Linked DNA regions of Homo sapiens: all the other regions are linked to region 3. The links are contacts of gene promoters, found by promoter capture Hi-C in human tissues and cell types (Jung and others, 2019). All regions are on one chromosome and are shown on one strand. The core of a region is centred on a gene start or on the middle of the fragment in contact, and the rest is flanking DNA. Distances in the headings are between cores, read along the strand shown.

Region 1 (3,642 bases), core at 928-3,427, 170 kb before region 3:
TCTCCTTGATGCCTGGACTCCAATTCCTTTCTCCATAACACCATCAGACAGCTAAAGCTTTAATTTCATGGGCTTTCAGCTGCCATTTTCTGCTTGACTTTGTAACCTCCTACCCAAAACAGCTTAGAGATTGGCAAATATCTTAATGGGAAAAGAGGCACAGAAGATTGAATGGTAGCTTCCAATGCCAATATTTGCCTCCCCAGGCCTGTGAGAATCCCAGAAGCTCTGAGCTGCCACTTTCTGCTTGGTCTCTAAGTACCTGCCAGGCTCATCTCAATGTGATTCCCTTTTCTCAGGTTCTCAGTCCCTCAAGTCCTGGCTGCCTTGGTTGCTCTCCAATGCCTTCAAACAGCTGTTATGTTGTTGCTGTTGTTTTGAGACAGAGTCTTGCTCTGTCGCCCAGGCTGGAATGCAATGGCTCGATCTCGGCTCAATGCAAGCTCCACCTCCTGGGTTCACACCGTTTTCCCGCCTCAGCCTCCCAAGTACCTGGGAGTACAGGCACCTGCCACCACGCCTGGCTAATTTTTTGTATTTTTAGTAGAGACGGGGTTCCACCATGTTGGTCATGCTGGTCTTGAACTCCTGACCTCGTGATCCACCCGCCTCAGCCTCCCAAAGTGCTGGGATTACAGGCGTGAGCCACCGTGCCCGGCCTGTTGTTGTTTTTAAACTAGTTTTTAGAGTTGCTTTTGGTGTCTGATACTTGTTATTTACCACAGCCACAAGTAGGTGTTTTTGCTTTGTGGGAAGCTTTATTTTTGAGAGCATAGAGGTTCCTGATTACTATAAAGAATTAAATGGGGCCGGGCGCGGTGGCTCACGCCTGTGCTCCGAGCACTTTGGGAGGCCGAGGCAGGCAGATCACCTGAGGTCAGGAGTTCGAGACCAGCCTGACCAACACGGAGAAACCCCGTCTCTACTAAAAATACAAAATTAGCCAGGTGTTGTGGTGCATGCCCGTAATCCCAGCTACTTGGGAAGCTGAGGCAGGAGAATCGCTTGGACCTGGGAGGTGGAGGTTACAGTGAGCCAAGATCACGCCATTGTACTCCAGCCTAGGCAACAAGAAAGAAACTCCGTTTCAAAAAAAAAAAAAAAAGAATTAAATGGCCTAATAAATGATAATGAGTACTTATAGATTTGCCTGGTAGACAGGAAGAATGATCTACTGGATGATTTGATTGATATAAGAAATTATTAAAATTAGGGCCAGGCATGGTGGCTCACACCTGTAATTTCAGCACTTTGTGGGCTAAGGCAGGAGGATCTATTGAGGTCAGGAGTTCAAGACCAGCCTGGGTAACATAGCAAGACCTCATCTCTACAAAAAAACTTTAAAATTAGCCAGGCACAGGCCAGGTGTGGTGGCTCACACCTGTAATCCCAGCACTTTGGGAGGCAGAGGCAGGTGGATCACCTGAGGTCAGGAGTTGGAGACCAGCCTGGCCAACTTGAAAACCCCATCTCTACTAAATATACAAAATTAGCCGGGCGTGGTGGTGCACGCCTGTAATCTCAGCTACTCGGGAGGCTGAGGCAGGAGAATCACTTGAACCTGGGAGGCGGAAGTTGCAGTGAACCAAGATCATGCCATTGCACTCCTGCCTGGACAACAAGAATGAAACTCCATCTCAAAAAAAAAAAAAAAAAAGTACAAAGACTGCATGTGCATGAGTGAAAAAACACAAGGGGAAATGTAGTGATATGAAAGGAATATAAAATCTGACACATGAAACAAATAGTTCTATCTGTGTTGTTTTGGATAAAATGAAAAGGCATTTCGCTTACTAAAAAGGTGATATTTCAATATTCTAAGAAGACTTTGATTAGGAATATAGCAGAAGACTTTTCTGCAACTATCCATCAAAAGATCAGATTCTGGCCAGGCGCGGTGGCTGGCACCTGTAATCCTAGCACTTTGGGAGGCTGAGGCGGGTGGATTGCCTGAGCTCAGGAGTTTGAGACCAGTCTGGGCAACACAGTGAAACCTTGTTTCTACTAAAGATGCAAAAAATTAGCCAGGCGTGGTGGTGGGCACCTGTAGTCCCAGGTACTCAGGAGGCTGAGGCAGGAGAATCGCTTGAACCTGGGAGGCGAAGGTTGCAGTGAGCCAAGATCACGCCACTGCACTCCAGCCTGGGTGACAGAGCAAGACTCTGTCTCAAAAAAAAAAAAAAAAAAAAAAAGATCAGATTTCATCTCCCTGAATATAGAAGGGATGTTATCTTACCAGCCCTGGCAGGCCACTACGCATATGTGCATACGTTACCATGTCTGTGAGGCATTGCAAGGAATACATTTTTTTAGCCACTCAACACCTGTAGATGTCACCGTCTCGGCAGCCAACAGGAAGACCCCATCTCCAGCCGCTGTTTTCCACTATGACCCTCAGCGAGTGTTTTCCACATTTAACCACGTGGGACCCACGGCTCTGGGGATGGCTTTGTGCCATCTTGTGTTTCTTCAGACCCTGCCTGAGTTTCAGGAGAATTTGCGTGACCATGGGAAAGGCTACTGGGCTGTCCAAATGCTACCGTCTCTCAGGCACCTGACCTCGGGCATCTGCTCCCTTCTGCCGCTTCCTGAGGGAACTCTCGGAAACCCCGCAGCAGGCCTCACTCAGGAGAGGCTGAGGGAAGAGATGGGCAGTGCCACCAGAGGCCCCTCTGAGAGGCGTTTCAACAGCTTCACCTGTGCTGACAAAGCAGCCGTGGTCAGCACCGCCGTTAAGGCGGCCATCAGTGGCGGCTGGCATGCAGCGTGTACACGAATTAACACATCAAACAGAAAAACTGCCAAAAGCAGTAAAGCGAATAAGGATGGCTGGGTGCTCCTCACTCCTCCAATGCCAGTGCCCCATCCCCTCTCAGTGCCTTCGTTCACCTCTGACTCCTGTGTCCACAGTGACGTTCCAAAGAAGAGCCCCACAGAGTGGACACACAGAAAGTCCTACTCACGTCGAATGTGTCATCCTCTGCCCTTCCTTCCTAGGCTCACCCTGGCCATGAGATGTGCATGGCTGCTGGAATGGGCATTGCACAACGATTCTCGAGAGCTCAGGGCCGCCGTGAGTGTTCTCTGGGTTTCTGGCACATGGTGGAGGAGGTTTAAAGGAGCCTTCTCTAACTTCACCATCCTTAGAGAAAAGACACCTCATTGGGTGGCTCCTGGCTCCATGGTCAGTGGCTTTGACTGCAGGGGTGGAGGTGTGGGGGGGGTGGACCAACACATTTTTATTTAAAAAAAAATATATGTATATCTCACAAAATAGACTTTTTTCCATAGAAAAAAAAATTTTTTTTTTGAGATGGAGTTTCACTCTTGTTGTCCAGGCTGGAGTGCAGTGGTGCGATCTCAGCTCACCGCAACCTCTGCCTCCCGGGTTCAAGCAATTCTCCTGCCTCAGCCTCCCGAGTAGCTGGGACTACAGGCATGCGCCACCACGCGCAGCTAATTTTGTATCTTTAGTAGAGATGGGGTTTATCCATGTTGGTCAGGCTGGTCTTGCACTCCTGACCTTAGATGATCCGCCCGCCTCAGCCTCCCAAAATGCTGGGATTACAGGAGTGAGCCACCGTGCCCAGCTCATAGAAATATTTATTACCAGTATTCCAAAGAACAGTACTTGGAGAAAGC
Region 2 (3,791 bases), core at 803-3,302, 230 kb before region 3:
TCCATTGATCCTGCATGGCTTCCTCATTTCCCCTCTGATGGATGAACTCCTAGGCATCCCTCAAAACCCAGTTCCCACATCACCAACTACAGGCATCCCCAGAAAGAGCACTTCGCATGCTCTTCCTGTGAGCAGTCCTCTGCTACCCTTCCAGATGGGCCTTCCTGAGGGGAGGAGGGTCCTCTCTGGGACCTCCAGGCCAGGCAGAGACCCCTGACGACCTCTGTGGAATGGATCCCAACATGGGTCTTTCCACAGCCAGCTTAGACGCTCTCCCCCCAGGCCACCTTTCTGGCCTCCCGAGGCAAGGGCTGGACACCCACAAAGGGTTGCTTTGCACTGATTGTCTTAAGCTACACTTAGAATGGCAGGAAGGCCCACTGCCTTGTGTCTAATGCCAGGACAGGGAAGACCACACCTTACCCAAAGAGGGAAATGCCCCAAGTACTTAGCAGGATGGAAAGCAGGCCAGACTCGAGGAAGGCACCGCAGGACTCCGAGGGCAGGGCTCCGAGCCGCGCACGCCTCAGGCACAGGGGGCTCTGACGACACTGAGTGGGCGTGGCCTGGAGGCAGAGGGCTGGACTCAAAGACCTCTGGATGTCCCCCCACCCCCACACGGGCCTGAGCCCCTCCAAGGCCTGCTGCTGACAGAGTCAGACAGCTGTCCAGAGCCATGTGTAAAAATACATCTGTGCTCACACAGGGTGGTGTACGTCTGCACAGAAACGTATACACCAGGCCAGCACAGGGCTGCCTGTGGGGGCGGAGGGACCCCGACTTCCCACAGCCTCCGTACCTGCCGCCTGCCTTTACCATAAGCACATATTCTTGCTACTATTATTAAGTCACAACTTAAAAAAAAATACTCTGTTTTCGAAAGGGCTCCTCCATCTGCCTCCAGAACCCTGGTGTATGAGAAGTCTACACAGCTCCCGGGAGAGGCAACCGGACCCCCACCAACGGACTCCGTCCGCCCTTCGCTCGGATGAGGGACTCAAAGCAGTCAAGAAGTGGCCACCTGGAGCAAGGCCGAGAGACCCAGGAGTGAATGTGGGGCGGCCTCTGGCTGCAGAGCAGGGGCCCAAGCTCACCCGCTGACCAAGGCAGCACTCAGAGGCCGTCCCGACAGGACCAAGCTCGCTAGCGCCCCAGGATACTCAATCTAAGGGGCAAGCCCCAGCTGCCCTCCAAGCCTTGGCCTCTGGGATGGGCGGGCAGGACCTCCAGGGCCCACCCAAGACAGGAAGCAGTTCCGGGGCCCAGGAGGGTCACAGTCCTTTGTGGCTAGCCTGGGTACCCCGCCACCACGTACAACTTTTCGTCCGTGGGAAACGAAGTCTCCTTCCGGGGCCCTCCCACAAACTTGAAGGCCGGCCGCGGCGAGTCTTTCTCCAACCCCGGGGCACCTCCGCCGGCTGCCTCGCTGGCCCAGCGCCCGGGGAGCCCCACGGCCCGCAGGGGCACCCCGAGCCCCAGCTCCAGGCCCGGCGGCGTCCCTTCTCTCGGGTCCCGGCCTCGCCCGGCGGAGCGGCCTCCCCAAGGTCATGAGGGAGGCTGGGGCCGGCAGCCTGCACCCCCGGCGCCCGGCGTGGGGCCGCCCTCCCTTGGCCGGGCCCGCGCGCCCCGCGCCCTCCCCGCCCAGGCCCGCTCGGCCACTTCCTGCTCCCGCTCCTCCATTCTGGCGGCGCCGCGGCTCGCGCCCCGGCCCGACCGGCCGCGAACAAAGCGGCCCGGCCCGCGGGGAGGAAATCCAGGCCCGGGCGGCCACGGCGGGCGGGGACTCACCGGGCCGCCGCGTCCGGGCGCGAGCGCGGGCCTAGCCGGGCCGCGGCCTCCGGCGCCCGCCGCTCCGCATCCCCGCGGGCCGGCGCTGGGCGGGGCCGGGCTGGAGGCCGCGGCGGGCGGGGGCGCTGCTCGGGGCCGGGCCTCGCGTGCCGCCGCCGCTCGGTGCCCGGTGCCCAGCGCTCGGTGCTCGGCCGCCTGCTCCCGTCTTCGGGCCGCGCTGCGTGCGCTGGGCCAGCCGCCTGCCGCGCTCGGTCCTGCCGCCGCCGCCGGCCCGCCCTCTCCCCGCCCCGCGCCCGCCCCGCGCCCGGAGCCGCCCGCCCACATCCGCCTCCGCCGCCCGGGGCGTCCCCACCGCGCGGCCGGCGGCGAGGGCGGAGCGCGCTCGGGGAGCGCGCGGCCGGGCTGAGGGGCAGCTCCCGACGACCTGGGGCCTGGGCTGGGCCGCTAACGGAGCCCGGCCACCAGCCAGCCCGTCCCGGGGCCACGCCCTCTCTGGCCTCAGTTTCCCCGTCTGTAAAGTGACCCGGCGCTTCTGGGCTCGCTCTGCCGTGACCCTAGCAGAAGGGGCCCGAGACAGGTCAGGGACGAATCCCGGACTTCTGCCTCCGCGCGCGGGGCGGGGGTGGCTTAGGTTGACTTTCAGGCTGCCCCACTCTGGGGGGCGTGGAGGGGGCGGCCAAGAGTGACCTAAAAGGCCCAATCCCAAGACCTTGTGCCTCTGGGGGAAGTGCGGGAGGATGCCAGGACAGGAGGTCAGTTGGAGGTGGGCCTCCAAGGAGCAGGAAGGCTCCGAGGGGAGTCAACCATTCACCTAGGTACTGGCAGCTACACTCACAAAAGGGGGACTTTGCTGGGGAGTGGGAGAAGAGGGGCACACCTTGCCTGGCTCCCACCTTGAGCTGGGAGCAGACACCAGACAGAGGAGGAGCGGTGTCTAGGGTGGGCTGTGACAGCTGACAGCCCAGAGCCCTCCCTGCTGGGTGGACTTGGTCAGCCCGGACACCCAGTCCGAAGTCCACTGGGAGGCAGATGGCCCGGGTATGGAATGAGTAAGTGGGACACAGACCCCTTTCTCCTGGACACTCACAGGAGAGTGCAGGTGACTGCCACCCCGACCCCTTCCTAGCCAGAAGTTCCTCCGACAACTGCCCCTCCCCCATTCCAGAGGCCCACAGTTGATAATAACCCTTTTGTGAAAGACAGACTCTTGTGAGTTACCTTCCTGAGGCTGCTAAGTATTGGGGTTGGGGGAGCATTTTTATTTTCAGCCAGAGTGAGTTCAGCTGGCAGCAGGGGAGGGGGTGGGAGGAGATGCAGACAGAGGCAGCAGGTTCGGCCCAGTGCTCAGGACAGAGTCTGCAGCCAAAACTCGGGCTTCATCCCTGCCTCTTGGGGCTGACCAAGAGAAGGACTCTCTCCCCCTGCATGAGGGCACTCGCTCCTCAGACAGGGGACTCCCCATTCCTGCCTCTCGCCTGAGCACCTCTGCTCCCTCCCAGCTCAGACTTTGTAACCCCAGGAAGGGCCCACCTCCAGGGGGCCAAGTCAGAGGCCCAGTGGTCTGCGCCGCTTGGGTGGGATACCTGACACAAGGGTTGCCCCCAGAGCCTGGGCGTCTGGTGTCTGTCTCTCACCCAGCAAACCTGCACCATGAGCCACCTGGGGCTCCCTCTGGGACTGTCCCACCTGCCCACTGCTCCCCGAGGAAGAGTTCCTGGTATCTGTCCACCATCCTGGGCTCTGCCATGCAAGGATGGAGGAAGGAATTCAGGGAGGAAGCAGAGGGTAAGAGGGCCATGAGACAAGGCCAGCAAGTGGCCGAGGCTTGGGGATGTGGGAGGGAGCAGGGCACCCTCTCATGGAAGAGGCAGTGACATTGCGGGCTGTTCTTGAAGTGGTTGGACCTCTTGCTTATTTTGCACTGGCTGTCTCCAAGGAGGCCTCCCAGTCTTCCCAGCCTGGTGCCCTGGCATCTGCTGGTGCCTGCAACCCACTGTGGGCCC
Region 3 (3,913 bases), core at 397-2,896:
AGGGCTGGGACGGTTGGGGACAGACTCAACTCTGACCTAACCTGTCACCTTCACAGCTGGACTTGCAGCCACTTCAAAGTTTCGGGTTTTTAAGCAAATCATCAACAATTTCCATTCCTCACACATCAGATAAGCTTTGAAATACTTTATCGGAAAAACAGGGAGAAGAGGAGCAAGGTCTGCAGTCTTGAGTACTGAGTGGGAGCTCCACCTTCCACTACAAGTCTCCTGGAGGCTGTTCATGAACAATTACTGTTATGTTAATTTCAGGTATTTGGTTTTTTTTGTTTTTTGAGACGGAGTCTCGCTCTGTCGCCCAGGCTGGAGTGCAATGGCACGATCTCGGCTGAGACCTCTGCCTTTCTGGTTCAAGCGATTCTCCTGCCTCAGCCTCCCACATAGCTAGGATTATGATTACAGGCATGCGCCATCACGCCCAGCTAATTTTTGTATTTTTAGTACAGACGGGGTTTCACCACGTTGGCCAGCTAGTCTCGAACTCGGGACCTCAGGAGATCCACCCGCCTAGGCCTCCTCTCAAAGTGCTGGGAGGTGTGAGCTACCGCGCCCAGCCAATTGCAGGTACTTTTGTTACTTGGAACGAAACACACTCCTTCTTTTCCCTGAAAACATGTTCCAGTGGCAAGTTGAGGGAAACTTCCTAGCCCCTTTTCCAAGATACAGCCTACTACTCTTCCTAGAAAAGGGGTGTAACTCACTTTGTATTCTGGATTTCCACCCTAATTATAAAACACGGTGACACTTGAAAATAGAGTGGTTGTACGTAGAAAGTTGATAAAACGTAAGTTTTGTGAACAGGCAATGTTTTTCTGTGGCTCGCTTTGAGAGAACGGTTATCTGGGTCCCGCCGTCCCGTGCGTCCCACACGAAGGCCACAGGAGAAGCGAGGCAGCGGAGACCCTCTATTCCAGCAAGCTGTCGGAGCCTTTGCCACGACGATCCTGTTTGCGGGGCGAGAAGCGTCTGAAGACGCGGAGGGAGGCTTGCGTCTGACTTCTGCAAGTGTCTCGGGGACTTTCCCTAGTCCCACCTCGCACCGCCGGAGGAGCCCAGGGAAGACGGCGCTGGCCGACCCGCCCGGGGTCTGGGCCTCCTCCCACATCCGCGGCCCTCTCCGCGGCCGGGCTCCGACAGAGGGGGCTGCGGCGCGCCTGGCGTTCCCTCCGCTGCAACTAGAGCCGAGGTACGGGAAACGCCGCTGCGTACCCCAGCCGGGCCCTCGTGAAGCGGCTCCCGCGTGGGGCCGCCCGCAGGCCTCGGCAAAGCCCCAGCTCCGCGCTCCGCAAGGAACGCAGACGGCGGCCCGGGCCCCTCTGTTCCCCGGGCCCCCTCAGCAGCGGCCACCCCGCGGGGGAACCAGCGCCCAGGAGGGCGGCGAGGGCGCCGCGGCAGCCCCAGCGGTGGTCCCGGGCGCCGCCTCCGCCCCGGACCCAGCGCCAGGAGCCACAGACTCCGCGCACCGCCCCCAGGCTCCTCCGCGCCCTGCAGCACAAAAGTGCACGCCGCCGTAGACGCCCTAGCGGTCCGCCGGGCCCGCTCACCTGACCCGCGAGGCCGCCCGCCGGGTCCTCTGCTCAGCCACCGCCACCGCCGCTGCCGCCAGCTTCCCGCCGCTGAGGAAGGAGCGCCCGACGGCGCGGGGCGGGGCGAGCGACCGCCACTCGGCGTCCACAAAGGGTCGACGCTGCGCTCTCCGCGCGCTACGCCCGCTGATTGGCCACTCGCGGGCCGGGGGCGGGGCCTCTTGTTCAAACCCACGCGGGCGGGGCATCTGTGGCGCGTCTTCCCGCGCTGCGGCGACGGCCGTTGGGGCTCGCGCGCGCCCTCGGTTGCCCCGCCCCCGCCCCTGCGCCCGGCCCCGCCACGCCCACGCCCCGCCGGCTCCCAGGTCTCCCCGCGCCCAGTCCGGCCCCGCCCCGCCAGCTCCCAGGTCTCCGCGCGTCTGGCCCTGAACTGAACGCGCCTGCGCCTGGGGCCCACGTGGGGCCCTCGGGCGGGCGTGGCGGGGCAAACAGAGGTTTGGACTCTCTCGCTTCTGCCTGGCTCAACTTCTCCGCCGAGGCATCCGTGCCGGGGTCGGGAGGAGCCGGGCACGGCAATTCCCGGGCGGTCTGGGCTCCGAGGTCTATCCAAGCCTCTCCAGAGACCGGGGTTATCTCCAAAGGCTTCCTAGGTTTACACGTAAGAAATGTAACGTGAAAGTTCAAAGCAGGGGACACGTGTTTTAAATCTCTTAGTGGAAAAGGTTTTAAATAGGATGCGAGAACCTGCAATCATTGACTTAAGTAATACCCTGAGCGCCTGCAGCAGGCCCGGCAGGCGTGGCTGCAGCTGAGAGCCAAGTGCTGGAAGTTGGGGGGGAATCCTCAGATCAATCCGCAGGTGCGGATGCGCCAAGGTCGGTGGTAAATGCTGAAATGCTGTCGGGAAACCTGGGAGTGACGTGGGGGCGCTGCTCACATAGGTCTCTAGGATAAGGAGCGTCTTAAAGCACCAAAAGGAAGAGTGGACGAGAATTCAGGAGAGGAATGGCTGGGGCAAAGCCCGAGGCAGGGGCAGGAGGCAGGAGCACGTCTCAGTGCAGTGAGAAAGAACCCTGTGATCTCGTGGGAAAGTTTTAAGTGTGAGGGGTGGAGGGACTTTTGGGCTATTCTGGGAGTGGGATGGAGACTACTGGCATGGTCAGCAGAGAAGGAACTGGAATCTGAATTGTGCTTGAAAAGAATCACTGTTCTTATTTAAAAAAAAAAAAAAGGGGGTCTCTTTCGCCCAGGCTGGACAACAGTGGCGTGATTATGGCTCACTGTATCCTCGAACTCTTGTGCTCGAGTGATTCTCACGCCTCAGCCTCCCAAGTAGCTGGGACTACAGAAGTGTGCCACTACACCAAGCTAACTTTTTTTTTTTTTTTGGTAATTTTGTAGAGACAGGGTATTGTCTTGTTACACAGGCTGGTCTCCAACTCCTGGCCTTAAGTGATCCTCCTACCTTGGCCTCCCAAAGTTCTGGGATTACAGGCATGAGGCACCACAACCACCAAGAATCACTGTTGGTAATAGATTTGGAGGAGGTGGCAGGAAGGCTGGAAGTAGAAAATCCCATTAGGTTACTGCCCAGGTAAAAGAAAATGGGACTTGATAAAGGTGACTACCTGAGAATTTAAAGTTTATGCATGTCAAAGTGAAAAGACAAATGGGGAAAAAAGTTTTTCCTGGCTGTATCCCACATAAAGGTTAAATTCCTTAATATACAGATATTCTGCAAATGCAAATGAAATCTAGATCACCAAAGAAAAGTGGTTTGGAAATAGTGGCACCCACCTGTAATCCCAGCTACTCAGGAGGCTGGGGTGAGAGAATCCCTTGAGCCCAGGAGTTGGAGGCTGCAGTGAACTATGATTGCACCACTGCACTCCAGCCTGGGCAGCAGAGTGAGACCCCATCTCTTAAAAAAAGAAAAGAAAAGTGGGCGTAGAATATAAACACAGTTCAGAGCAAAGAAAATACAAATGCTCCTATACAGGCGAATAGATGCTCAGCCCCAATCAGAACAAGAGCAGTGGAAATTAAAGCTATGCTGGAGTGCTGTTTGCCACGGGTCAAATTGGCAAAGATCTAAAATAATGTCTGGAGTAAGATAATATCTTCCAGAGCATATTAGTCTATTCTCATGCTGCTAATAAAGACATACCCGAGACTGGGTAATTTATAAAGAAAAAGAGGTTTAATGGACTCGCAATCATGGCAGGAGACAAAGGAAAAGCGAAGGGACGTCTTACACGGCGGCAGGCAAGAGAGCGTGTGCAGGGAGCTCCCCTTTATAAAACCGTCAGATCTCAGGAAATGTATTCACTATCCGGAGAACAGAACAGGAAAGCCTGCCCCATGATTCA

Evidence for each region. Contacts are between HindIII fragments. The study calls those that stand out against the background at their distance.
Region 1: a fragment that was not itself captured here is called in contact with the fragment with the promoter of CDCA4 in region 3 in 1 of the 25 tissues and cell types used here (dorsolateral prefrontal cortex).
Region 2: a contact is called between the fragment with the promoter of AKT1 here and the fragment with the promoter of CDCA4 in region 3, in 1 of the 25 tissues and cell types used here (liver).

The regions. Positions count from the first base shown.
Region 1 is chr14:104,849,442-104,853,083 of GRCh38, forward strand. No RefSeq gene overlaps it. Among named protein-coding and RNA genes, the nearest start is that of CEP170B, 14 kb to the right of the region's middle. The HindIII fragment of the contact is 3,543 bases long and covers 407-3,642 here.
Region 2 is chr14:104,793,696-104,797,486 of GRCh38, forward strand. AKT1 (AKT serine/threonine kinase 1) reads right to left here and starts at 2,053. Exons shown (of 15, transcript NM_001382430.1): 1 at 1,789-2,053. RefSeq lists enhancers at 1-518, 519-1,160, 3,202-3,791 and silencers at 1,425-1,744, 1,775-1,824, 2,005-2,364. The HindIII fragment of the contact is 31,557 bases long and covers 1-3,791 here.
Region 3 is chr14:105,019,437-105,023,349 of GRCh38, forward strand. It overlaps CDCA4 (cell division cycle associated 4), which reads right to left and starts at 1,647. Exons shown (of 2, transcript NM_017955.4): 1 at 1,563-1,647. RefSeq lists enhancers at 1-372, 824-1,339, 1,854-2,367, 2,383-2,442 and silencers at 993-1,082, 1,093-1,982, 2,013-2,082. The HindIII fragment of the contact is 13,458 bases long and covers 1-3,913 here.